Linked DNA regions of Homo sapiens: region 1 is linked to region 2. The links are contacts of gene promoters, found by promoter capture Hi-C in blood cells and fetal thymus (Javierre and others, 2016). All regions are on one chromosome and are shown on one strand. Each heading gives the region's core, a stretch centred on a gene start or on the middle of the fragment in contact. The rest is flanking DNA. Distances are from core to core; before and after follow the strand shown. Region 1 overlaps BAZ2A (bromodomain adjacent to zinc finger domain 2A). Region 2 holds the start of GLS2 (glutaminase 2).

Region 1 (5,797 bases), core at 33-2,532, 130 kb after region 2:
GCCCAAAAGTGCAAGTCCAGCCTATGCACCATAGCAAGACCCCATCTCTAAAAACTAAAAGCAATGTGCATTTGTTGATTTAAGGGAAAAAGTTTTTAGGACTTACTTATCTCCCATATAGGATATCTCATCTTTAGTCTAAATAGGGGTGTCCAATCTTTTGGCTTCCCTGGACCACACTGGAAGAAGTGTCTTGGGCCACACATAAAATACACTAATGAGAGCTGATGAGCTTTAAAAAAAAAAAAAAAATCACAAGAAAATCTCCATGTTATCTTTTAAGAAAGTTTACAAATTGGTATTGGGCCAGATTCAAAGTTGTCCTGGGTGGGCTGGACAAGCTTGCTCTAAATTAAGTAGCAGACCTAAACCTGCCATGCATCAGTGAAAAAATGGAGTCTTTATAGTGAAAAGACCCCAGGTTAGCCAGGCATGATGGTGAGCAGCTGCAGTCCCAGCCACTTGGGAGGCTGAGGCAGGAGGATTGTTTGAGCCTGGGAAGCAGAGATTGCAGTGAGCCAAGATCATGCCACTGCATTCCAGCCTGGGTGACAGAGCGAAACCCTGTCTCAAAAAAACAAAACAAAACAAAACAAACAAACAAACAAAACACACAGGGTCCTCCAGGATTTCCTTTTTTTTTTTTTGAGACAGAGTTTCCCTCTTGTTGCCCATGCTGGGGTGCAAGGGTGTGATCTCGGCTCACTGCAACCTCCACCTCCCAGGTTCAAGCGATTCTCCTGCCTCAGCCTCCCCAGCAGCTGGGATTACAGGCACCCGCCAACACGCCCAGATAATTTTTTATCTTTTTAGTAGAGACGGGGTTACACCATGTTGGCCAGGCTGGTCTTGAATTCCTGACCTCAAGTGATCGACCCACCGCGGCCTCCCAATGTGCTGGGATTACAGCCATGAGCCACTGCGCCCAGTCAGGATTTCCCTAGTATAGTTAACAGCTACTCCTCAGCAGTAGGGGGTCTGAAAGATAAGCATCATGAGATTAATAATCCTTCTTAAGTGCAAGAATTAAAGGAAAGTTCATTCCTTAGTCTCCAGTTAGGTTCCTTCCAAAGCTTATACCACAGAGCAAGGAGGACACTCTTCACTTCAGAAGTCCTGGAAATACTATGCCTAGAGGGCCAATTTCATCTGATCCTCACCTCTCCTCTCCCCAGTTTTTTGTACACCTCCCCTGGTGTGGAGGATACATGCAACTTCCATCCTATGTGCAGTGGACTATATCCTCCTCAATGATGGGTCACGGTTCATTTTTCCATTCTCTATTTGAATCCAAGAACAAAGTTGTGACCTCCTCTCTGCTGCTCTGGAAAAGCACAGCATATCCTGTTTTTGTAAATATTAATAACAACATGTCGATGGCTCACAGAAATCAGAGAATTAAAAAGAATGGGAAGTTATTTAGTATGTGAGATCAGTTTCTCCACCTGTCTCTTCTGAACTGTCATCAGAACCACAACCACTTCATTTACGAGAAGCTTCCTAGACACATAAAATTGTCTTTGTGCTATGCAATGTGGTCAGCACAATGTAGTGGGCTCTAGGTTCAAATCCCAACTCTACTATTTACTAGCTAGCTGTTTAACCTTGGACAAGTTACTTATACTTGCTGGGCCTAAGTTTCATCATCTGTAACAATTTTTGTACCCACTTTTAAGGACTGGTGAGGATGAAATGAGAAAATCTAAATTAGAGCCCCAGCACAGTGTCTGTCATCCAGCAAGCACTCCATAAACGTTAGTTTTTTTTTTTTCTTCTTGAGACAGAGTCTCACTCTGTCATCCAGAGTGGTGTGCAGTGGCATGATCATAGCTCACTGCAGCCTGGAACTCCTGGGCTCCAGTAATCCTCCTGCCTCAGCTTCCCAAGTAGCTAGGACTACAGGTGCTCACCACCACACCTGGCTAATTTTTAAATTTTTTTGTAGACACAGGGTCTCGCTATGTTGCCCATGATGGTCTCAAATTCCTGGCCTCAAGCAATTCTCCCACCTTGACCTCCCAAAGTGCTGGGATTACAGGCGTGAGCCACCTTACCAGGACTACATTAGCTACTATTATTAGACAAACAGTAAAAGACTGTGTAGTTTTCAAAAAGATAATCAGGCCTGGCCAGGCGCAGTGGTTCACGCCTGTAATCCCAGCACTTTGGGAGGCCAAGGTGGGTGGATCACCTGAAGTCAAGAGTTCGAAACCAGCCTGGCCAACATGGCGAAACCCCATCTCTATTAAAATTACAAAAAATTAGCTGGGCGTGGTGGCGGGCACCTGTAATCCCAGCTACTCAGGAGGCTGAGGCAGGAGAATTGCTTGAATCCAGGAGATGGAGGTTGCAGTGAGCTGAGATCGCACCATTGCACTCTAGCCTGGGTGACAGAGCAACACTCTATCTCCAAAAAAAAAAGATAATCAGGTCTAAACGGTCTACATATAAAATAAATATAATTTAAAACTAGGGATGATCCAGCCAGACTTCCTTATATACAATTTGACTCCTGATTTCAGATGTCACTTAAATATGGGAATTAATTATGTCACAGTATGGGAATACGAAAAACATGTGAACACCTCCTCTCAACAATGAACCTAGGTTTATTTCATTTTAACCTTCCTACTCAAGATGCTTTTCACAATAAACCCTAAAGGTAAACTCTGTCCTCCCATCCAGAGCTAGTAAGAACAGTAAAGCAAAGGAGAGCATCTCCCTTTGAACTAATAGGATTTTCACCAAATGAGAAAAGAAATCAGCCAGTGCCCAACCCCTAGAGTAGCAGATGACTCTCATACCAGGAAGTACATTCATTCAAGCACCCAGCCCAGTCCCAGCTATACATAAATGGATCTTTTAAGAGCTCCTATGTTTCATTTATAAGAGTAAGGGACATTGCCCTATAAGCTTGAAGCAATAAAGCCCTCCCCACAGGGCCGAATAGGTTGCTTTTCTCCCAGTTCCAATCAAAGAGCTGCTACTCTGTGGGCCTGTGACATGGTTTAATAGAAAAAGGCTGACAACACCAAGAGCAGTGGCTCGTGTAATCCCAGCACTTTGGGAGGCCGAGGTGAGCGGATCACGAGGTCAAGAGATCGAGACCATCCTGGCTAACACGGTGAAACCCTGTCTCTACTAAAAATAGAAAAAATTAGCCAGGCGTGGTGGCGGGCACCTGTAGTCCTACCTACTCGGGAGGCTGAGGCAGGAGAATGGCGTGAACCCGGGAGGTGGAGGTTGCAGTGAGCCGAGATCGCGTCACTGCACTCCAGTCTGGGCGACAGAGCGAGACTCCATCTCAAAAAAAAAAAAGAAAAAGGCTGACAATGCACAAAGTGTTGAAATAAATATTATATATTGCAACACTGTTACAGGTGTCCTCCCTGACCAATTCTAACCCTCCAGCCTCTGAGGCTACCCCCCAGGACAACAAGACACATTAACACCCTCCAGCTGGATACTGCAGTGGTCCCTGCAGCTCTTGGGTTCATTCTTCTCATGTAGTACATCAAAATCTCACAAATGGGGTTGGGGGGTGAGAGAGATTTCAAATGTTTATCTTGACTAAACAGCAAAGGCAAATTCTAGAGTAAAAATCACACCACTACATTTTAGCTTTGTAATTGTGAACATCATGAAGGATATTTCTTAACTCTACACATCTCTGGATTACCCACCACACTCTAATACAGAGGTTCTCATCAGGGGCAATTCTGCCCCGTAGGGGACATTTAGTAATCTCTGAAGGTATGTGCTACTGGCATCTAGTAAGCAGAAGCCAAAGATGCTGCTAGGCGTCCTTCAACAAACAGGACAGCGCCCCCCACAACGAAGATATTATCTGGCCCACGTTATCAATAGTGCCAAGGCTGAGAAACCCTGTTCTAATGTAAAAGCTGTCCCATTCCTGCCCCACACCTTGGGAAAGTTCCAAGTTTTCACTGTTCCCAGTTCCTGACACTGCAAATGAGGACGCTTTGGCTTTTGTATCTAAAAACCTCATCTCCCTGGCTAAGCCATGTTCCTCCACCAATAAGAGTTCCATGTAGGCTGGGAGAGGTGGCTCATGCCTATAACCTCAGCAGGATCACTTGAGGCCAGGAATTCAAGACTGGCCTGCGCAACACAGTGAGACCCTATCTCTACACTAAAAAAAAAAAAAAAATTCCAAGTACCAAGCCACAGAATAAATATGCCCTCTTCTCCAATCACGATAACCCATTCTGAGTGCCCTAGTAACAAGCTTCCCTTGAACTCTGACTCGGACAAACTATATCATATACTGACTGAGGCTCAAAATATCCATCCTCTCCTTAACTACCTTCCCTAGTCAGGACTCCAAGTGAGGCAGAACAAAGATAATGAAAGAAGGAAGATTATACTAAGAGGGGGCTACTCAAAGAAAACTGTCACGTCCAGGCTGTTCAGAAGAATTCAAAGATGACTGTTCTCTGTCCTTATTTCTTCTACATTATGTCGGTTCCACAGCATCAGTTGGATATAAGTTCCACCATTATATCCCTAGCACCTAATTTAGTGCTAAGTATACAAAAGAACCAAAGGAAATATTTGTTGAGTCCATGGACTGAAGAAATGAATGAGTAAATCTACCTTTTCTGCCACTACCAGCTTACTTATCCAATGAAGGTCATGGGCTTTGCTCTTACTATTTTCAGAGAACAAAAAAAAAAAAAAAAAACTCAGCTTCATTCTTCACAGAGATAAAAATTTCAAGAGAGAAGAAAGGCCTCAAATCTTGACGTACTTAAATAGCCATTCCTTGAAGAAAATAAGGCCTGAAAATAGGGAAGTACTGATAATGTAAAAAGCCAATAAATTAGCTAGGCATGGTGGCATATGCCTGTAGTGCCAGGTTCTCCGGAGGCTGAGGTGGGAGGATTATTTGAGTCCAGGACCTGGAGGCTGCAGTGGGCTATGATCACACCACCGTTTTCAACCAAATAAAAAAATAAATAAACGTAAGCTCTGAATTAATAAAACATTCTACTTGGTTTAACTGAACACTTGAGGCATATAATAGGTTTTTATATATTTGTTAATTAAAGAAACTACAGGTTAAGTTTTCTGCCACATTTCCAGTCACTTTACTCTCAGAAGACCAGGAATGCCTCTGAAATTGCAGGACACTAAAAGCCACAGTCCAGAGGTTATATTAAGGTAATTTCCCTCTTTCAGCTCTGATTGTTTCTTAGAATTTCTTTTTTTTTTTTTTTTTTTTTGAGACAGTGTGGCTCTGTTGCCCAGGCTGGGGTGCAGTGGCACGATCTCTGCTCACTGCAACCTCCATCTCCCCGGTTCAAGCAATTCTCCTGCCTCAGCCTCCCAAGTAGCTGGGATTACAGGCGCCCACCATCACACCCGGCTAATTTTCATATTTTTAGTAGAGACAGGGTTTCACCATGTTGGTCAGGCTGGTCTTGAACTCCTGACTTCAGGTGATCCGCACGCCTCAGCCTCCCAAAGTGCTGCGACTGCAGGCTGAGCCACCGTGCCCAGCCAGAATTTAAACTCTAACAGTTAAGGACTCCACCCTTTCCACCCCCAAATATGAGCTAAGCAGGCAGGTTAAGGACCCCATTCATGAGGCAGGTTACAGAGTCCAACCTCAAAAGACTAAAAGTAGGAAGACCATCTATCTTTTAAAAACTTCTTGGCTCACGCCTGTAATCCCAGCACTTTGGGAGGCCGAGACGGGCGGATCATGAGGTCAGGAGATCGAGACCATCCTGGCTAACACGGTGAAACCCCGTCTCTACTAAAAATACAAAAA
Region 2 (5,321 bases), core at 1-2,500:
CCTATTGGTGTCCCTTACGACAGAGACTCGAGTAGTGGTGAGGTAGTGTTGTGTCAGAGACTCGAGTAGTGGTGAGGTAGTGTTGTGTCAGTCTGGCTACTTTACTGATGGTGTCCATGTTTCTGAGTGTCATCAGGGAGATGGCAGCGACGAGGGAGATGGCCCATTTCCTGTTCCTGCTACAGTAGAGCAGGGGCTCTTTGGACAGTGTCTATGCTGGCCCTCTGGGGAGGACAAGATTTCCTGCTCAGCACCGTCTGGGTCTCAGAGAAAAAGGCTCAGCCACCAAGTGTGTCCTAGGCGGTGGGGAAGATAAAGGTTTGGCATCCTGGGTGGAAGAAACACCCAAAGGAAGAGAACGTTTTAGATTCTGGAGCCTGGGCAGCACAAATAAAGGCTCTGACTGGCTCTGGTTTGGGAAATCTGCGTCTTAAAGACCTTTCCTCCATTACAAATATTCTCCCCATTCAACAACCAGTTTGGAAATTCCCCCCCATTCTGCTGTTCAGGGAGCACTGCTACGCACACACCCAACACTTATGGACGTACCTGCGCACCAATAATACACGCGCATCACACATTACCTGCCGAGAACACGCAGAAACACAACACACAGACCCCAGTACACCTGGACCGGAGGCAGGAGGCTGTTCCACATCCACGCATCTCCTAAAATACACACGAGGACTAGGGAAGGTGAGGACTGGCGGCGTGAGCCCGGCCCTGCACTCAGACACGTGAGCCAAGCAACACTCGGCGCGCATCTGTGATCCGGGTTAAGTGCGCACCTTGGACAGGCGCCATCCCCAGGACCCGCTTGCCCGAACGCACTCCTAGGCAGACGGCAGATTACCGCCCGAGCGCGGCGCACCCAAAGCCCCACATCCAAAGGAAAAGGCACCGAGGGCTAGTGAGCGAGGAGAGGGGAGATGAGCGGCGCTGCCTTGGAAGGGCACTCGGGAACTAGCGAGAACCACAGTGGGAGTGGGGGCAAGCCCGTCCCCTGCCCTGTCCCAGGAGCCTTACTGATCCTGGTGCTGCGGCTGGTGGCTGTGTGGCGTCTCTCTGCCCTGCGCCGCGGCCTCACTGAGGTGGTGCCGGACGCCCCCGCCAAGGAGGGGGCTCCGGCTCGGGTGACCCCAGCCTCCTCGCCCGCAGTGACTGCCAGCCCGGCTCAGGGCCTTCTGCAGAGCCTTCATGGAGCGCATGCCCCAGCAAGCCTCCGGCTCTGCAGGTGCGCCCGGGACCTCTAGCTGTGGCTGGGAAGGAGGGGCGGAGCGAGCGAGACAAGGTGCGGGGGAGTTCTGTGAGGGAGCGCTGGACCTGGAAGACGGAGAATGTGGGCCCGGTGGGTGGGGCTGGGGCTGGGGCAGGAGAAGGGGCCTGCCCCTTTAAAGCTGGCTCCAGGGTTAGGGGCACCCTCAGGACAGGGGCTAGGTGAGGAGCGTTGGGGATGAAGGAGAACCCGGGTGGCTTTCTAGTGGGTGGAGAGAGGGCGGTGCCTGGGAGCTGGAATGGACAATGCCCAGGTCCAATCACTGAGGAAGCAAAAACATTGAGGCGGGGAAAGGGTAAGGTTGCCCAATGAGAGCAAGACGGTGGGACCTTGCGACAGTCTGCGGATGCTTCCGCGTGGGCCCGGCGAGCGCGGGTATCCGCGGATGCTGAGGGCGGGAAAGGCGAGGACAAGCTGAGGCGAAGCCGGTGGGGGCGGGAGGCGCTCCCCGGGAACACCGTGGGGCTGCGAATGATGGAGTTGTCGTGTAGAGAGGAGGGTGCTGCCTCGAGAGAGGAGGCTAAGTAAGAGTGAGCCCAGTTCAGGAGGTCACTCAGAGAGCCTCGACCTCCGAAGGCCAAACCAGCGCCCAGTAACCCGGCGGGTAGCGTGGCGCGCGGCCGACGTGCGGTGGTGCTGAGTGGAGAGTAGGATGACTGCTGGGTACCCCGGGCAGAAGCAGCCGACCAGCACCTCAGGGAGGCATTGGGCGGCGGGAAGGTCGCTCTGGCGGTTAGGAAGCCTGGGTTCCAGTTTGTGTCCCTCTACCATTTATTTGGTGTAGGACTTGTTTTCAAATCTGGAAAGTTAAGACATTAAAATAAGTTGGCACGCAGAAAAACGTTTTATAAACCATGAAGTGCTCCCCACATTTTTCCTATTTTAATTGTTTGCCCTTGTCCTCCTCACGGGCAGAAAAGAGGCGATATACAAAAAGCATTTTGAAATCCAAGAACATTCAGGACTTTTGCCATTTGCAGCTAGAACTTTCACCTTGTATCTCGGCAGCGCCTAACCCAGCATCCATATTTAGTAGGGACTCATTATGTAAATGATAGCTATTATTGAGTGCCCATGGTGTTCCAACCGCTTAGTTTCTCTCTCCCTCTTACCAGAGACCTACAAAGTAGTTATTAGTCTCAATTTGAAGGTGAGGAAACTAAGACTAGGAAATTAAGAATTCTCGCATAAGGTAACCCAGCTAGTAAGTACCAGAACCAGAAATTAGACCCGTTTTTTTTTTTTAACTACAAGTCTCTCCTTCATGCAGCCCTTCTCAAAAATTAAGCATTGAATTGAATTATCCCGGGAGAAATGACCCCATCCCTAAAGGAGGTATTTTATGTGGAAGTATTATGATACAGTACTGGGAGTCTTTTCCTTGTGATAGTTCTGGCTGTATCACAAAATACTAGTTTTTGTTTGTTTGTTTTTGAGACGAAGTTTTGCTCTTGTTGCCCTAGCTGGAGTGCAATGGCGCAATCTCGACTCACTGCAACCTCCGCCTCCTGGGTTCATGCGATTCTCCTGCCTCAGCCTCCCTAGTAGCTGGGATTACAGGCGCCTGCTACCTCGCCCAGCTAATTTTTTGTATTTAGTAAAGATGTGGTTTCGCCATATCGGTCAGGCTGGTCTCAAACTCCTGACCTCAGATGATCCGCCCGCCTCAGCCTCCCACAAGTGCTGGGATTACAGGCATGAGCCACCGTGCTTGTCCCATAGTTTTCATTTTTGGATTAAAATGAGTTTCAAGGGTACTCGTGGGAAAACAAGTACTGAAACCAGTCAGGTGTGTTCTGTGGAAAGGCAGTTCTCCTTTGCCTTGGTTAGGGTTGGAGGGCTTATTTGGCTTAAAACCAGATGGAGTGACATTTGTTTTTGCTTGTTTTCGCCTTCTGTAGTCATTCTGTGTCTGCTGTATCTGTTCTCCTGTCCGTGGAAAGCCGTCTAATTCTGGGAGGGCTTGCTGCTTTATGCTTGGCTTTGCCCAAGAGGCAGAGTTCTGGGTCTCAATACTTAACGTAAACTCAATCCTGCATTAGTTTTTTTCATACGTAACAGACGAATCTTATCCTTGTTTCATAGAAATATGATTTATCTGAAACGTTTTGATCTATTCAAGAGAAAAATACCATCTGTTAGGGAATTTCTAAACATTACCCAGAAGTAATTTGCTTCCTTTTTTTCCTATTTCTGCCTCTTTGAATTAGCTTTATACTCTAATGAGTTCCTTACTCTCTTTCTCCCAGCACTCTTCCACTAATAGGAACTGGTTGGGTAGTGAAGAAGATCTATGCATGGAAGCAGAGGTTCTTTGCTTAGAGAACTAGCTCCAGCTGCACTTGGACCTTTGGACTAACTGTCTCCAATACAATATTGCTGTCTTTGCATGAGGATGGAGCATGAACTGGTGACTTGGGAGGCCAATGGTACTGTGTAAAGTATAAGATGCTGGAGAAGAACAAGTTTGTTGTCCCAGGTGGTTAAAGCTTGGCAGGGTCAGGTCCTCTTTTTGTTTCTAATTTGAAAAATACTCATCATCTAGTTTAATTTGTGCAAAACTATTAGCCAACTATGACAAGGGCAGCTAGAAATGAAGATTTTCATAACTGAAAGAAAGTTCTTTGTGTCTCTAACAGTGGGCTTTTAGGTTAGTCCATGGCTGTGCCAGAGTTTTGTGGTATGTGAGAGAGGATTAGACTTAATGATTTTGAATCCTTAATAAAAGCTAAATCCGGGCCGGGCGCGGTGGCTCATGCCTGTAATCCCAGCTGCTCAGGAGGCTGAGGCAGGAGAATTGCTTGAATCTGGGAGGCGGAGGTTGCGGTGAGCTGAGATCACGCCATTGCACTCCAGCCCGGGCAACAAGAGCAAAACTCCGTCTCAAACAAAAAAAAAAAAAGAAAAGAAAGAAAGAAGGAAAAGCTAATCCTCTGTGATAGGAAATTGATGTTTGGAGTTTGTTTATTTCTTATGATTTAGAGACTCATTTGTTCTACTCTATTTTGTGTGTGTGTGTGTGTGTGTGTGTGTGTGTGTGTGTGATGGAGTCTCGCTCTGTCGTCCATGCTGGAGTGCAATGGTGTGATCTTGGCTCACTGCAACATCCGCCTCCCGGGTTCAAGCAATTCTCCTGCCTCAGCCTTCCGAATAGCTGGGATTACAGGCACCCGCCAATATGCTCGGCTAATTTTCGTATTTTTAGTAGTGACGGAGTTTCACTATGTTGGCCAGGCTGGTCTCGAACTCCTGACCCCTTGATTTGCCCGCCTCAGCCTCTCAAAGTGCTAGGATTGCAGGTGTGAGCCACCGCACCTGGCCTGTTCTACTCTTTAGACTGTAGCTAGGATGTTAATTGGTCCAAGTAAAAGATTAGTTCATTTTTTTATTAATCTTTGTTAATGATACTATTGTTACAAACTCCTTTCTGCCTTAGTTTCTCCATTTGTAAAAGATAAACTTGTATTTTACTGGGTAAAATGTAAGTACTTGGGGCTCTGACATAATGAGCTTCCATTCACTCAATTAATATTTATTTGTTGGCATTCAGTGTGCCAGGTCCAGTGCTGGAAAATCCAGAAATTTAAAAATTTAATAAACCAGTTTCTACTGGGAGAAATGAGAAAGCTTATGTTTAAAATTCCTAATGAAAAATGCTGTGATGTAGAGACATGCAGAAGAAAGTATAAAGGGGACATCTAACTAAGCTGGGGGTGAAGGGCCACTGGGATAGAAGAGGAATGGTGACTGACAGGAGCTGGTTTTTAAAGCACGAGAGGTGTTTCAGACAGAGGGCTCTACAAGAATAAACATAGCCTGAGAGGAACATTTGAGGGACTCTACCTCTAGTTTGGTTGGAATGAAACGTGGGTATAAGAATGTGGACCAGCCGGGCGTGGTGGCTTATGCCTGTAATCCCAGCACTTTGGGAGACTGAGGTGGGCAGATCACAAGGTCAGGAGTTCGAGACCAGCCTGACCAACACGGTGAAACCCCATCTCTACTGAAAATACAAAAATTAGCCAGGCGTGGTGGCATGCACCTG

Evidence for each region. Contacts are between HindIII fragments. The CHiCAGO score rates a contact against its expected background, and 5 or more counts as called.
Region 1: a contact is called between a fragment that was not itself captured here and the fragment with the promoter of GLS2 in region 2, in 1 of 17 cell types (M1 macrophages). The highest score is 5.4, in M1 macrophages.

The regions. Positions count from the first base shown.
Region 1 is chr12:56,619,930-56,625,726 of GRCh38, forward strand. All of the region lies in intron 1 of BAZ2A (bromodomain adjacent to zinc finger domain 2A), which reads right to left. Among named protein-coding and RNA genes, the nearest start is that of BAZ2A, 7.5 kb to the right of the region's middle. The HindIII fragment of the contact is 423 bases long and covers 1,072-1,494 here.
Region 2 is chr12:56,486,911-56,492,231 of GRCh38, forward strand. GLS2 (glutaminase 2) reads right to left here and starts at 1,251. Exons shown (of 18, transcript NM_013267.4): 1 at 1,027-1,251. The coding sequence starts at 1,208. LOC124902944 (a long non-coding RNA gene) reads left to right here. Exons shown (of 2, transcript XR_007063331.1): 1 at 1-42; 2 at 77-422. RefSeq lists an enhancer at 788-1,007 and a silencer at 1,168-1,597. The HindIII fragment of the contact is 16,217 bases long and covers 1-3,763 here.